2 separate regions of the Homo sapiens genome follow, and region 1 is linked to region 2. The links are contacts of gene promoters, found by promoter capture Hi-C in blood cells and fetal thymus (Javierre and others, 2016). All regions are on one chromosome and are shown on one strand. Each heading gives the region's core, a stretch centred on a gene start or on the middle of the fragment in contact. The rest is flanking DNA. Distances are from core to core; before and after follow the strand shown. Region 1 holds the start of VTA1 (vesicle trafficking 1). Region 2 holds the start of STXBP5 (syntaxin binding protein 5).

Evidence for each region. Contacts are between HindIII fragments. The CHiCAGO score rates a contact against its expected background, and 5 or more counts as called.
Region 1: the fragment with the promoter of VTA1 here is called in contact with the fragment with the promoter of STXBP5 in region 2 in 5 of 17 cell types (total B cells, naive B cells, activated CD4 T cells and 2 more); the score reaches 13.3 in total B cells.

Annotation. Positions count from the first base shown.
Region 1 is chr6:142,145,470-142,152,332 of GRCh38, forward strand. It overlaps VTA1 (vesicle trafficking 1), which reads left to right and starts at 1,794. Exons shown (of 8, transcript NM_016485.5): 1 at 1,794-1,930. The coding sequence starts at 1,819. NMBR (neuromedin B receptor) reads right to left here and starts at 1,653. Exons shown (of 4, transcript NM_002511.4): 1 at 1,575-1,653. RefSeq lists enhancers at 1,523-1,817, 1,581-1,720, 1,975-2,495. The HindIII fragment of the contact is 1,973 bases long and covers 1,223-3,195 here.
Region 2 is chr6:147,199,118-147,205,714 of GRCh38, forward strand. STXBP5 (syntaxin binding protein 5) reads left to right here and starts at 5,300. Exons shown (of 28, transcript NM_001127715.4): 1 at 5,300-5,565. The coding sequence starts at 5,416. STXBP5-AS1 (STXBP5 antisense RNA 1) reads right to left here and starts at 5,497. Exons shown (of 11, transcript NR_034115.1): 1 at 5,296-5,497. It overlaps LOC124901422 (a long non-coding RNA gene), which reads right to left and starts at 4,454. Exons shown (of 2, transcript XR_007059803.1): 1 at 3,699-4,454; 2 at 2,759-3,176. RefSeq lists silencers at 4,483-4,902, 4,933-4,982, 5,003-5,082, 5,253-5,442. The HindIII fragment of the contact is 4,433 bases long and covers 1,439-5,871 here.

The sequences.
Region 1 (6,863 bases), core at 544-3,043, 5.1 Mb before region 2:
TCTTATTTTTCTCATCTGTAAAATAATAATGATATGTTCCTCATAGGGTTGTGGTGCAAATTAAATAAATTAATATAAAGACCCTAGAAACATGCATGATACATAGTTGATGCTCAGCAAATGCTGCTAGCTAGTTATTATTACTTTAAGTTGTGGTAGAGGCAAGGCAAAATAATTCATATCTGGTGGTGGCCTTAATCTCAATAGCAGGAAATGCTGTTGTAGACCAAGGAAATTGGGGCTGAGTGCCTAGCTTGAATAGAGCGAGAGAAGTTTGAAACACCATCTGTGGACTACAGCACTGGTCCTTAACCCTAGACGTAACATTAAAATTACATGAGGACCTTTTAAAGATACTGACATTTAGGATCCCACCTAGAACAATTAAGTGAGAATGCCTGGAGTGGGCTTTAAAGTTGATCTTTAAGGGCAGCTGCGGTTGAGAATCAAGAAGTAATAGGAAACAAATAAATGAAAAGTTGTGAGTATAGAAAGAAAACAGTTATGGTTATCCAACTCTGCTTTTCTTCATTGATTTCTCTACCAATCTAGCAACTTTTGACTGGAAAGTCCAAATAGTGGGAGTAAGAGAAAGAGAAAGAAACCATACATTCTCCAGTGGTAGGAAATATGCCGCTGAGATTGGGGAAGAAGACAGAACTGAGTTTCAGGCTGAGTAAAAAAGCCCGACCCAGAATAAGATGATGGACTTTGCAAATAGGTCTAGGCAACGTATGTGGAGTGGGATAATATGAGGACATGGAGCGGTTTCTTCTGGGGGTGAGAGAGTGATCAGAAAATAGTAGGCAGAGGGGAATTTCCGAGCTGGAGATTTTGGCTCTTGGGGATAGTGTGATTTCAGTGAAAACTAGTTTTAAGATGAATTGTCAAAACTGAGGACTGAGATAAAATAAAGAAGGTTATTGGAGGAAGTAAATAAAGTGTACAGTCCTGAAAGATATAAGTAAGGGATGGAGAGGAGAGGAAGAGAATTGAAGTCATTGAGGGTAGAAGGAAAAGTGATGCCTACTGTACAATGGTTAAGAGTTACCAGCGTTGAAAACGTCCCAAACACCCTATCTTACATTAAGACAAGATAATAAATATGAAAATACTTTACAAATTGTTAATCACTCTCCAGAAAAAAAAAAGGTGATCTACAGATTATTCATTCACTAAAATACGTACTAGCCAGCTGAGAACAAAAGTTCAATCTTCTTTAAGCTTCATATGTTTAGCTTAATTTGGCGCGAAATCTGATTATTTTATCCAGTATGTCAACATAGAAAAATTTAATTTACAATTTAAACACATTATTTCTCTCTCATGCAAGTATTGAAATTAAAGTTTCTAAAATCAAAAAGGCTTCTAAAGGACACTGCTATATGGAATATTAATGTGGCATATTAACTGGAAGTGGTAATTCCTGAATGACGCCAAAGGCAATTCTCGCCTTTATACTTTCTCCCAGTCAACATACATTATTTTCTTGTTTTTCCTTTTCTATCCTTCCTTTTGCCACAAACAACAAACCAAACAAAAAAGCAAAACAAAACAAAAACCCTTCCTCCTACCAGCAGAGAGCGCTAGCGCCATGCGCGGCATAAGCGCCAAAATGCTCGGGTCTTCTGTGGGTTCTAACCGCCGAGAGCCAAGCACCCTGAGGTTGTCCCAGCTGGGGATCCGTAGTTGACTTGACGTCGCTGAGCAACGGAAGAGTGGGCAGCATTTGCTCTGAACGCTCGTGCGCGCTACCGCCCAGACGGAAGCGGAAGTGCCGGTGGAGCGCGAGTAGGAAGTGGTGAGTTCGGAGTAGAGATGGCCGCGCTTGCACCGCTGCCCCCGCTCCCCGCACAGTTCAAGAGCATACAGCATCATCTGAGGACGGCTCAGGAGCATGACAAGCGAGACCCTGTGGTGGCTTATTACTGTGAGTCTTTCCGAGTGGCCGCGCCCTTTCTTTCCCAGTTGCATTTTAGGGCCCACACACCTCCCTGAGGTTCTTGGGGCATGCCCCGCCCCCCTCGCTTTAAACCTGAGCTTTGACCTCGAGCCTACCCAGGGAACTCCCTGGGTTCCCACCCCCTGGCAGTAGGAATCCCAAAACACCATGGTGTCCACTGCTTCTCCTATCTTGTGCTTAAATGCTCCAGTACTGACTACACAGGCTCTTGAACTGTGGAATATAATCTTCCAAGGTTTTCTCTGTGTGTGTACACACAAGAGCTTCTTGTCTCAAATAGGAATCCTGAAAATAAATTGAGTTAGGTTTAAAACGAAGGTGAGTGTCCGAAAGAAGGAGTGATGTGGATAAAAGGACGATAGACTAGTTGAAAACATAGTAATAAGTGAATATTATTTATGACAGCATGCAAGCCCAATCAGAAACTCATTTGGTTAAATGGGGAGTATCTGCTACTAAATAAGCAGTTGAATTTGACCTTTCCCCACCCAGCTGCTCTCTCCTACCATGCAGAATTTTTAGTTTTGACTTCTTTGAATAATACCCGCTGTTGAGACCTTTGAAAGCAGTATTTTCACTTTGAGTGTTATACGTTGAATTTACAGTTTGATTAAAAAAAATATAGGTTAACTCTGCTCAAACTTGTAGTGAGTAAAGGGAGTGCCAGTAATTCTGTGTTAACTTTATTTTGTATTCTGTACTCTTAACTTTACTGCAAATAAAACAAGTAACTGGACAATTATAATTCTGAAAAGGATATTTAGAGTTGAGAAGTTGGATATAATGCGTCCATTGTTGTGTATATTGTAAGGTTAGCTAAAATCTGGTCACTGTTATCTCTGCCATACTCCAAATGTACCCTGTTTCTCAAATGTGCAAGGCCTTTTCAGACCTACCATCTTCCACTCTCTTGGAATGTGCACCTTTTTCTTGCACTTGGCAAACTCATGATTCAAGATCTAACCCAAATGTCACCACTTCTGTGGGCAGCAAATTGATTATTCTCTGTGCATTACTTCATTTTGTTCAAATTTTACAGCATCATTTTTATTATACTTGTTCTTCAGTTTCCTCAAGCAGGGTCCATATTCATTCAGTATGTGTTCATTGAGCTACCTTTGTATCAAGCATTAGTAGGCGCTGTGACTACATTTGCTGCATTTTTGGAGCTTACATACAATGGAGGTAGAGAGTTTCAACAATATAGAGTCTATCATACATAGAGTATTAAAAGCTTATGAAGACAAATAGAGCAAGGAAAAGGAATAAGAGTATCAGGAGTAGTGGTGGCAGGGAGTGCAGATGGGATTTCAGTTTCATAGTGGTCAGGAACACTTCACTGAATTGACATTTGGGGAAATAAAAGAGTGAAAGGCATACCTTGCACCATCTGGGAAAGAGTATTCTCCATAGAGGTTATAAAAGTCCCGAAGTAGAGGCTTGCTGGAAGGAGGAGTAAGTAGACTATTGTGACTGGAGTGGATGGGGCTTGGGAGTGATGGGATAAGGTCAAAGAATCTCTCATCCCTAAAGGAAATTCCTGTTCCCGATCCCTGTATCATGTATCTTTGTGACAAACCAGGGACACCTTACTCACTGTCGTCCTTTCCCTCTAGATTTTTCTAAACCTAATCCAGTTTCCTTTATTTAAAAATATAACATAAACTCTCACCATATCATTCCCTAAAGTTGCAGCTCTGCTTTTCCAGCCTTATAGGTAAGTTTGAAATAGTTGTCCATAAGTTAGCTTTACGCCTTTATCTTGTAGAGCCTTTCAGCCCATGCAGTCTGGTTTTCATGCCCAGTATTTCACTGAAACTGCTCTCATCAGGCTTATGAAGAAATATTTTTATTGCTCAGGTGACACTTAACAATTTTAGTTATGAAACATGTACATATAAAAGCATATGTAATGTGCAGACAGTTTAAGGAATAATAAAATGAACACTAATATGCCTATCACATTTGATGTTATTAAACTTTTTAATTTTTGACAATCTGGTGGGTGTGAAATGGTGGTGTCTCATTGGAGCGAAATCTGCAATTCTCTGAGTCTTAATGAGGTTTAGCATCTTTTCATATGTTAATTAACCATTTGTGATTCGGTTTTGAAATACTTGTTTATTGCTTTTGCCCATTTATCTGTCACAGTCTTGTCTTAATAATGTTAGATGTTAATCCTTTGTTATATGTGTTGTAAATATCTTCTCCCATTTCAGTTTGATTTTTCACTCTGAAGACCTTTGATGTTCAGAAGTTCTTAATTTAAAAATGTTATCAATCATTGTATGAATCTCTTAGGACTTAACCTTCTGATTTTATAGGCTTTCATTTCTTTTCGTGTATTTGTTTGGGACTTTGGCTTTCTACATCTGTAGATGGGTGTTTTTAATCAATTTTGGAAAATTTTCTCTACTATTATTTGTTCAAATATTGCTTATATTTCTATTCTCTCATAAAAGTTTGATTAGACATGTTTTGCACTTCTCCCATTTAACTTCCTTGTCTCTTGATTCTGTCATTTTTTTTTATCTCTTTGTCTTTCTGTGCTGCATTCTGTGTAATTTCTTGAGGTTTATCTTCACCTCCCTATATTTTATTGTTTAACCCTTTTATTGAATTTCTACTTTAATTTTTTATTTTAGTGTTCTCTTTTGGTTTTCATATTGGCCTGGCCATTTCTGATAGTTTCTTGTTACTGATATTTTTAACCACTCTATTTCTGTGAACACTTTAAATATATGGATTTATGTTTGCTGTTTGATAACATTGTAGCTGCTATATTTGTGGGCCTGATTCTGCTTTTCAACAGAACACTGCTCTTGGTGACTTCTTTCCTTACAATTGTGGGCTAGTCATGCTAGACCAGCGCTCTCCAAACTGGAGTAGGCAAATAATTCCAAAGGAATCAATTTTCCAATTCTTGACTTCCATGTTTTCCTTCCAAAAACTGTTCTTAACAAAGCTCCTGTGGTCAGGGTAGCAAAGTAGTATATAATATGCTGCTTATCTTTTCCTACATCCTGTTCACAATTGTCCTTCTCCCACTTTAATGAAGAACGGCATACTCTCACGCATCCTGAGTGCTTTTATGTTGTATTGCCTTGAAAGAGAAGGTGGAAAATCCTCCAGGGTGTCCAGACAAAAGAGACAATTCAAATTACCCATGTTAGTGAAGCCTCCATTAATTAAGGCATTGGATAGACCTTCCTATCTTTCCTGGTCTTACATTGAAGAAAACCAGCCAGAGCAAAAAATAAACCTTCATTCGGGAGTTCAAGACCAGCCTGACCAACATGAAGAAACCCTGTCTGTACTAAAAATACAAAATTAGCTGGGTGTGGTGGCGCATGCCTGTAATCCTAGCTACTTGGGAGGCTGAGGCAGGAGAATCACTTGAACCTGGGAGGCAGAAGTCGCAGTAAGCTGAGATCGTGCCATTGCACTCCAGCCTGGGCAGCAAGAGCGAAACTCCATCTCCAAAAAAAAAAAAAAAGCTAAGCATGAAAGGTTCCAAAAGAGCATTCTAATTTGAGGGGAAGGAGGTAGAACTTTGTATAAGGGGGATGCAGGGAGTCACCTGGAATTGTATATGGGGGATGCAGGGAGTCACCTGGAGTTTGTCTCTTTTCAGGAACAGTTGGTCAGTGGATCTCCGAAGAGGGAGGAGTTATTCTGCGATATTAGCAGCCATTGTTAGGTCATCTTGGATTTTATCAAGAGGTTGAGGAGGAACAGTTTGGGGCCAAGGTCATGAGCAAGATGATGTGAGGAAGATTAGCTGTAGGGACAGGGATGTGGAGGGACCACAGTGGGAAATCTCAGTCTTTCAGAGTCTCTTACATTTATACATGTATCTGTTAAGGGTAATGCCTTATGTTAAAACCGGTCCTGTGTTGCAGTATTCTGAATTCTCAAAATGATAAAAATTTTCATGAGATGACCTTACTGCCTCATTCTGTATTCATTATTAAAGAATACCAATCTTGGGTTGAGAGCAAAACCAAGAACAAAGGAGAAATACTGAAGATGAGAGTACCTTGTTTCATCCAAACAAGCTCCTGCAAGGCTCTGCAGCTTATTGCTATTTTATAATTAGAATTTAGAAATAAAATGGGGACATGAGTTGACATTCCAACTGGAATATTGTATTTCTCTGAAAAAGTAACTCTTACTTGGCTGATTAGTTTGGTGTTAGCAACTGGCATTGCCATTAAACAGTGTGGTAGACATTCTCTTTAAACTAAATGAGCTAAAATCTTCGGCTCTGAGGTTTTTTGTTTTGTTTTGTTCTTCTGGAAGTACATTTAAAACAGCTTGGCCGAGCACGGTGGCTCATGCCTGTAATCCCAGCACTTTGGGAGGCTGAGGCAGGCAGATCACCCGAGGTCAGGAGTTCAAGATCAGCCTGGCCAATATGGTGAAACCCCATCTCTACTAAAAATACAGAAATTAGCTGGATGTGGTGGCAGGTGCCTGTAATCCCAGCTACTGGGGAGGCTGAGGCAGGAGAATTGCTTGAACCTGGAGGTGGAGGTTGCAGTGAGCTGAGATCGTGCAATTGCACTCCAACCTGGGGAACAGGAGCAAGACTTCGTCTCAAAAAAATAATAAGAAAAAGAAGAAGAAGAAGAAAATAAAACAGCTGATGAGATTGAACCTTATTTGTTATTACTATTTTTTTTTTTTCACTGAGGGATGTTGGAACAAGTATTTCAAGTTTTCCCAATCCTTTCTGCATCCTACAATAAATAAGAAGGCTCTGATTGAAAGAAGATGATGAATCTTTATAATATCTTTTTGCATACATCACAGGAATTGAGAAAATGAGTAATGATGGGGTAACAAATCCTTTTTAATTTTTAAACAAATTTTAAAGTGGGCCTAATTTAATTGTCAG
Region 2 (6,597 bases), core at 4,050-6,549:
GCTGAGTCATGAGAATCACTTGCACTTGGGAGGCGGAGGTTGCAGTGAGCCAAGATCACGCCACTGCACTCCATCCTGGGTGACAGAGTGAGACTTGGCATCAAAAAAATAAAAAAAGTTCAAGACCAGCCTGACCAACATGGAGAAACCCCCTCTTTACCATAAATCCAAAAAAATTAGCCAGGCATGGTGGTGCATGCCTGGAATCCCAGCTACTTGGGAGGCTGAGTCAGGAGAATTGCTTGAACCCAGGAGGCGGAGGTTGGGGTGAGCTGAGATCATGCCATTGCACTCCAGCCTGGGCAACAAGAGTGAAACTCCATCTTAAAAAAATAAAAATCATAATATAGTGGATTGCTAGTTCCCAGATGAGTCTTGTGCATTTAGCTAATGATATTTGTTGAGTCCACTGAGGAACAAATGGTAACCAGAAATTAGTCAGGAGTCACAATTGTGGAAATGAAATTGTAGTACCACACTTTGAAGTGCTCAGGCCAAAACTCGAGGCATCATATTTACCTCTCCTGTCTCTGATACCCCCATACCATCAGCAAATCCGTTTGGCTCTACCATTAAAATATAACCCCGAATCTAACCCCCTGTGCACTACAATCACTTTTAACCATTCTGGTCCAAGCCACCAACCCCTTGCTGGATTATTGCAGCCATCTCTTCACTGTAGGAAGAACTGACAGTAGAAGGTAAAAATGGTGAGTGACAGATGGCTGCAATGATCTCTACTTTCTTTTACAATTAGATGCAAGTTGTATCTAAACTGCTATCAGAATATTTGATTGCAAAAACCAGAAATATAACCAAACTACTTAACGCAAAGAAGGAAAGAATGTCTCAAGTTTCCATAAAGCATAAGATTCGGGAACCAGAAAGTCAGAAATCAAGATTCTACTCTCGACCTCCTTGGGTCACTGGTGGTCATTCTCTGTCATCTCTGTGTCTGCTCCATCCTCCCGAGTTCTGTCTAAGAATGGGTACACTCAGCTGTGGTGTGTAGGAAATAAAACACACTACCTAGCCCTAGGACAACATGGCTTCCTCCTCATTCAGATTAATTTGTAATTTTGTAATCCAGTTCCAAATTCCCAGAAGATTATCTCTTGGCTTGCCTTATTTCTGGTTTCAGTCTCAGATCCTAGTGGTTTGGACCAGGAAACAAGGGGACCTGATTAAAATAGAGTTGCCCAGGCCCGTCATTTAGCAGGGGCTAGGGAACTCATTCAGAAAAGGTGGCTTGAACTAGACAAACCAACTAATTAACATCTGTGCTGCAATTTCCAAATAATTTAAATTCAATAGTCTATTAAACTATGTAGTGAATTAATTATTGTCATGCACACAGCCTTCAGGACTCAATAAACTGAAACTAAGTCAATAAAAATGAATGCTAGCAAGTGAGGTAGATTTGTTCTACTTTCCAGAAAGCTTTTGCCATTAAATAATTTCTCATTAAAATGTTTATTTTCAGTTTCTGCCTTCTCCATCTCAATCAGCATCCAGCTTACCTTTGCGATCTGTACCAGGTCCTGCATTAGTCTGGTAACCTTTAAACTGGATAATGAGGACTGATAGATTCAGAAATGTTATGAATTCTTGGTCTTTAGTCTTCTGCACCTGTCAATTTCATATGCTAACATTCTTTTAGTGTATGTGTAGTTTCGTTTTCTTAAAAAGTTGTCTTATTATTTTCATTGTGTTGGCAGAATATTTTTTAGTGCCACCTTGACTCAGCTAAATGTAAGATATATATTTATAATTTGTCAGTAGTATACTATTACATCATCACCTTATGGTCCATTCTTCAAACAGGTAAGAAATAATTTCATTCAGGAGAATGTCACCTAAAGGCAGAAGCTATTGAATTGCTTGAAATCAACATACTTACTCATTCATTCAAATAAAACAAATAAACACAACTTTTCTGAGAAATTATGATGGGTAAAATTCTCTGTTTTGTGCTCAATTTAAAAATGAATAATATAGATTATTTAGTTTAATGTATTTAATTCTAAACTTAAAATGTTTAATTCCAAATAAAATTCTCAAAATTTCAGTTCTAATTTGAAAAAACAAATTGATTAATTCTAACTGACTTATAAGAATTACTGTGAGTTTGAGGATCGATTATTTTACCTTTGCTATAATAAAGGTCGTTATTTTGGGCCATTGTTGGTTTTGGCCATTTGGATTTTCGGATAAGTCCCCGTGTCTCTGAGCACAGAGGATGGACTGCAAGTTCACAAAGGTAGGCTATATCCATCTTAAATTCCAGGTATTCACTAAGAACTGAAATTTTGAGAATGTCAGAATGAGTTCATAACCTGATGGAAAAGATAGAGTATAGAAATAAAAACAAACATTCTAGAGTCAGAAGTAGGAAACTGGCTTAAATTGGTGACTCTTTGAAGTCCCCTTTACCTCAAGGACCCTGATAGAATAGGAAACTGACATTTTTGAGTGTCTACAGAGTACTAAGCAATGCAGTACAAACTTTTCATATTCTTTCTTTTCCCCCTCCAGTTCATGCTCATAAATTTCTAAGAAGGTGGTATTAATCTCATTTTAAACCTGAGGAATCTGATCCCTAGAAAAATTTAAAATTTGCCCAAGATTACACATATTACCATGGCCTGGACTGAAGTTCATGGCTGGCTGACAACAAAGCCTATATTTTCCCACTACACCACAAAGCCTCTCAACAAGAAGTTGTCTTTTTTTTCTAGAAAGTTTTATAATCCAATGATGAAAAATTATCCAATAGATTTATTTTAGACCTAGGTAAGTAAAAAGGCAGATCATACAATTCTATGGGGTTGTGATCTGTCTGTTTTGCAATTTCCCCCTGTGGAATCACATGTACTTTTAAAAAGCTCTCAAGGTAATTCTGAGGCTCTCTTCCCCATTGTCTTCCAATGGTCTTTGCCTCCTGTTCGCTAGGTCTGCTCCTCCTTATCCGGCATGATCTATGGTGGGCGTCACCATGTCCAAGCCTTCCTGGCCAGTTAAGTGGCCCTCTGCCGTCCTCCTTCATTATTCCATCATTGGACTCATCACATCGTTTTACAATTACTATTTATGTTAAAAGTCGTCTCCGTTAGACCGTAGTGAGCTTGCTGAAAGCAAGGATTGCATTTTCGTGTCTTTAGTACCTAGCACACCGCCTGACAACAAAATGTTAGAGAACTAAATTAATAAAAAATTCAGAGCCACTTGGAAATAGTTTAGGAATGTCCTCACATTTGTTTTCTTGGTCGTTGCACCCAGCGAATCAACTAATTCAATAAATATTAAACGACAAATCAAAATTTTGTAGGTTCCAAATGCAAGACATCGTCCTGGGATGCGGAAGCTGCAGAGTGGACTACATTTCCCGAAATCCCTGGGCCCAGTCGTAGTTGGTTCGCTGACTGCTTTTGAATGCTGGTTAACTCAACCAATAGGGTGACGAGAATTTCCCTAAAGGAGAGGGAGCCGACCTCACAAAGAAGAGGGCGGGTGCTTCTGACAGGTTTGGAACTTAAAAAAACCCTTTGTGGCGGTTCCGTGGCTTTTCCGCAGACCAGAGCGCGCGAGGAGTCATTCGCTAGGAACCTGTCCCCCTCTCCCCGAATTAGGATTAGTCTTCCTGCACTTCCTTCCTTCCTTACGTCTTTCCTATTTCCACATCCTTCCTAATCAAGTACCTGTGCTTCCGTCCACCTGTCCTGTTGAACGCACTCTCCGGGGGGTTTCCCCGGCACAATCTCTTGTCTGTCTTTTCCAACTTGAGCCAGGCATTTGTCTCCAAGCATTCACGCGAGATGGGCAGTGCGGCCTCGGAAAGATCTGAGCAAAAACTTCATCCTATCCCCCTTTCCCCGTTCTAGAGTGAAGCTCCCAGGGCATTACTGAGTGGCTCATCAGCGTCAGGGCAGATTGAAGGTTCTGAAAAATAGTGGCAGCGCGGCGTTTCCTGCCACCCGCGCTCCTCCCCGGCGAGGGGCTGGGTGCGGGGTAGTGTCATCGGCCCGGGCTGACACCGGCCCTGGAACCGTTCCCCGCTGGCAGCCTCTTCCATCCCAGCAGCTAACTGCTAAGACCAGACACGTTCCACCAACAGTAACAGCTGTAGGAAAGAACCCGTTTTTTCCCGTCTAGGTTTCTCTCCTTTTCCTAGTACCTAAGTCCATCATCCTCCTGCCACTGACATATCGTTGTCTAGACGCTCTTTTTCAAAACTCAAATCCAATCAAACAAAAACAACGCCCGTCAATAAAGCAAGAAAAATAATACTGCAGCCAGCGGCCAGGAGCGTGCACCCCATTAACGGCGAGAAAGCATCAACCCCTGCTGTAATGACTGAATTGGAAAGAAAGGTTTCCTGCTGCTTGTTAGTCGTCAACATTTTTACTATGCCAGCTGCAAGAGAAGCAGCTGCATACTCTGGCAACTCGACTGGGGTGGGAGAAATTTAGCCAGCGTCTGGGATTTTCGCAGAAGATAATTTAAGCCCCAGCTTCGCTCGGGCTGGGGGGCTGGGGGCCTGCTGGGCCAGGGTGGGGGAACCGGGCTGCGGCGCGCATGCGCAGGTACCGCAGCCCGGCTCCTGGGAGGCCCTGCTGCCGCCACCGCCGCGGCCCGCGCTGTAACCGCGGCTGCCGCTGCTGCTCCGGGCGGGCGTTGGTGCCGTGTGCCGAGGCGCCCTGTCAGGCGATGGGGAGCGGCTGGGCGGGGAGAGCCGACGGCCGCGGCGGCGCCTGAGGAACGCAGCCGGGCTCGGGAGCGGCGAGGGCGGGCCGGTCCAGCGGCGGAGGAGCGAGGCGGGGCGAGGCAGGCGGCGCGGGGACCCACACCAGGCGCCTTGTGTGCGAGGCCGAGCGGCGGCCGCGGACAGAGAGCCGGCGACCCCCGGCAGGAGGAGAAGGAGCCGGAGGACGCGCCGAGGGACTGCGGGGCCGGGGCGGGCGAGCAGCGGCGCGGCCGCGGGCCATGGACGCAGCGGCGACGGTGGCGGCGCCGGGGGCGAGCCGGGGCGGCGGCGCGGCGCAGAGTCCGCCCGCGGCCAGGTGAGGCTGGGCTGAGCGGGCTCGGGCGCCGCCGCCACTGCTGCTGCTGCTGCTGCCGGGCCGCGGAGCGAGGCGGCGGCGGCGGCGGCTGAATCGGCACCACAGCAGCCGCGCCAAGCAGCGGCGGCCTCGGAGGAAGAGGGGTCGCCGCCCAGGTTTCTTGCGGCCGCCGCTCTTGTCGTCGCAGTATTTCCTGTTCGGATTATCTTTTGCTTCCCCCCAGCTGCCTCCTTACCCTCACACTCCCACTCCTCCGTTTCCGCGGTCGAAGCTGCCTTCGGCCCCGGGTGGTCTCCCCCGCCCGGGGACCCCCTGTGCCTCCCCTCCCGGGCTGCGGGGGAGCCCCTCCGAGACCATGAGGAAATTCAACATCAGGAAGGTGCTGGACGGCCTGACCGCCGGCTCGTCCTCGGCGTCGCAGCAGCAACAGCAGCAGCATCCGCCTGGGAACCGGGAGCCGGAGATCCAGGAAACGCTCCAGTCCGAGCACTTTCAGCTCTGCAAGGTGAACGGAGCGCGCAGCCCCGCGACACCGTCATTGAAAAATTGGGGTTGTTTTAAGGGGGCTACTCGGGCTTTACATGGGAATGCAAGGGAAGAGAACGCCAATAATAATAATAATAACTCTAATAAAAGGCTCGCTCCTCCCTTGGCAAACGTTTCTTCGGTGGGTTGTTTTGGAGATTGATACCTTACTCCTTTTCATTGATTTTTCTCTCTCCCCTTTGCACATGCAGCAATCAGTTCAAGGTTGCTTCAAACTATTATCCGACCTTTAATCGTATTCTGACACTGCCAGTAATAACCTGGAAGCTTTTATATTCAAGCGTTTTAATATGATTCACCAACTTCGAAGTTTCCTTTGGAAACGGTGTCTAATGAATGTTGTTTATCAAAAAGCCAAACCTGTTCTACCACACCTTTGCTCATCACTTTTCCCTTAAAATGTGGTGTAAGTGGCTTACGATATGAAATCACAGGGTTCTTTTTATCATTATGTTTGTTAAAAAGTACTGAGATTTTTGCCTGTTAATGGCACGATAATTGCCATAGCGTTCTGTAATTCAGAAAGAATGATGCAGCGAATTAAGTCACCAGCTGCTTAATGAGAAACACAAACTTGCCTCGGTTTTAATACCTGCCTTTCTCATAAATAGCCATGTATTTGTATGTCAGAGTTAATTAAAAGTGTGCATATATATATATATATATATATATATAGGTCTAATGCCCTAAAATGATTATGGCCTTAATAGTAAATTGCAAAAATGTATGTTGTACTCATCTTCATTCTGTTACAAGTGTAAAATGTTGGGATAGAGGTTTGATTATTGCTCTACTGAATGCTTGACTAAAGTAATTATATGACAGCTTTTCCTTAGAAGTACTTGCGTTAGCATCCAAATAAAGTAATGATGAAATGAATACTGCCAAAATAAAGTATGAATTGCATTTAATGGGTTTACAGAATTTTGGACCATTGCAAACTTTAGTCATCTGGTGTCGGATGTAGTAGTATAGAATATTAATAAAAGAT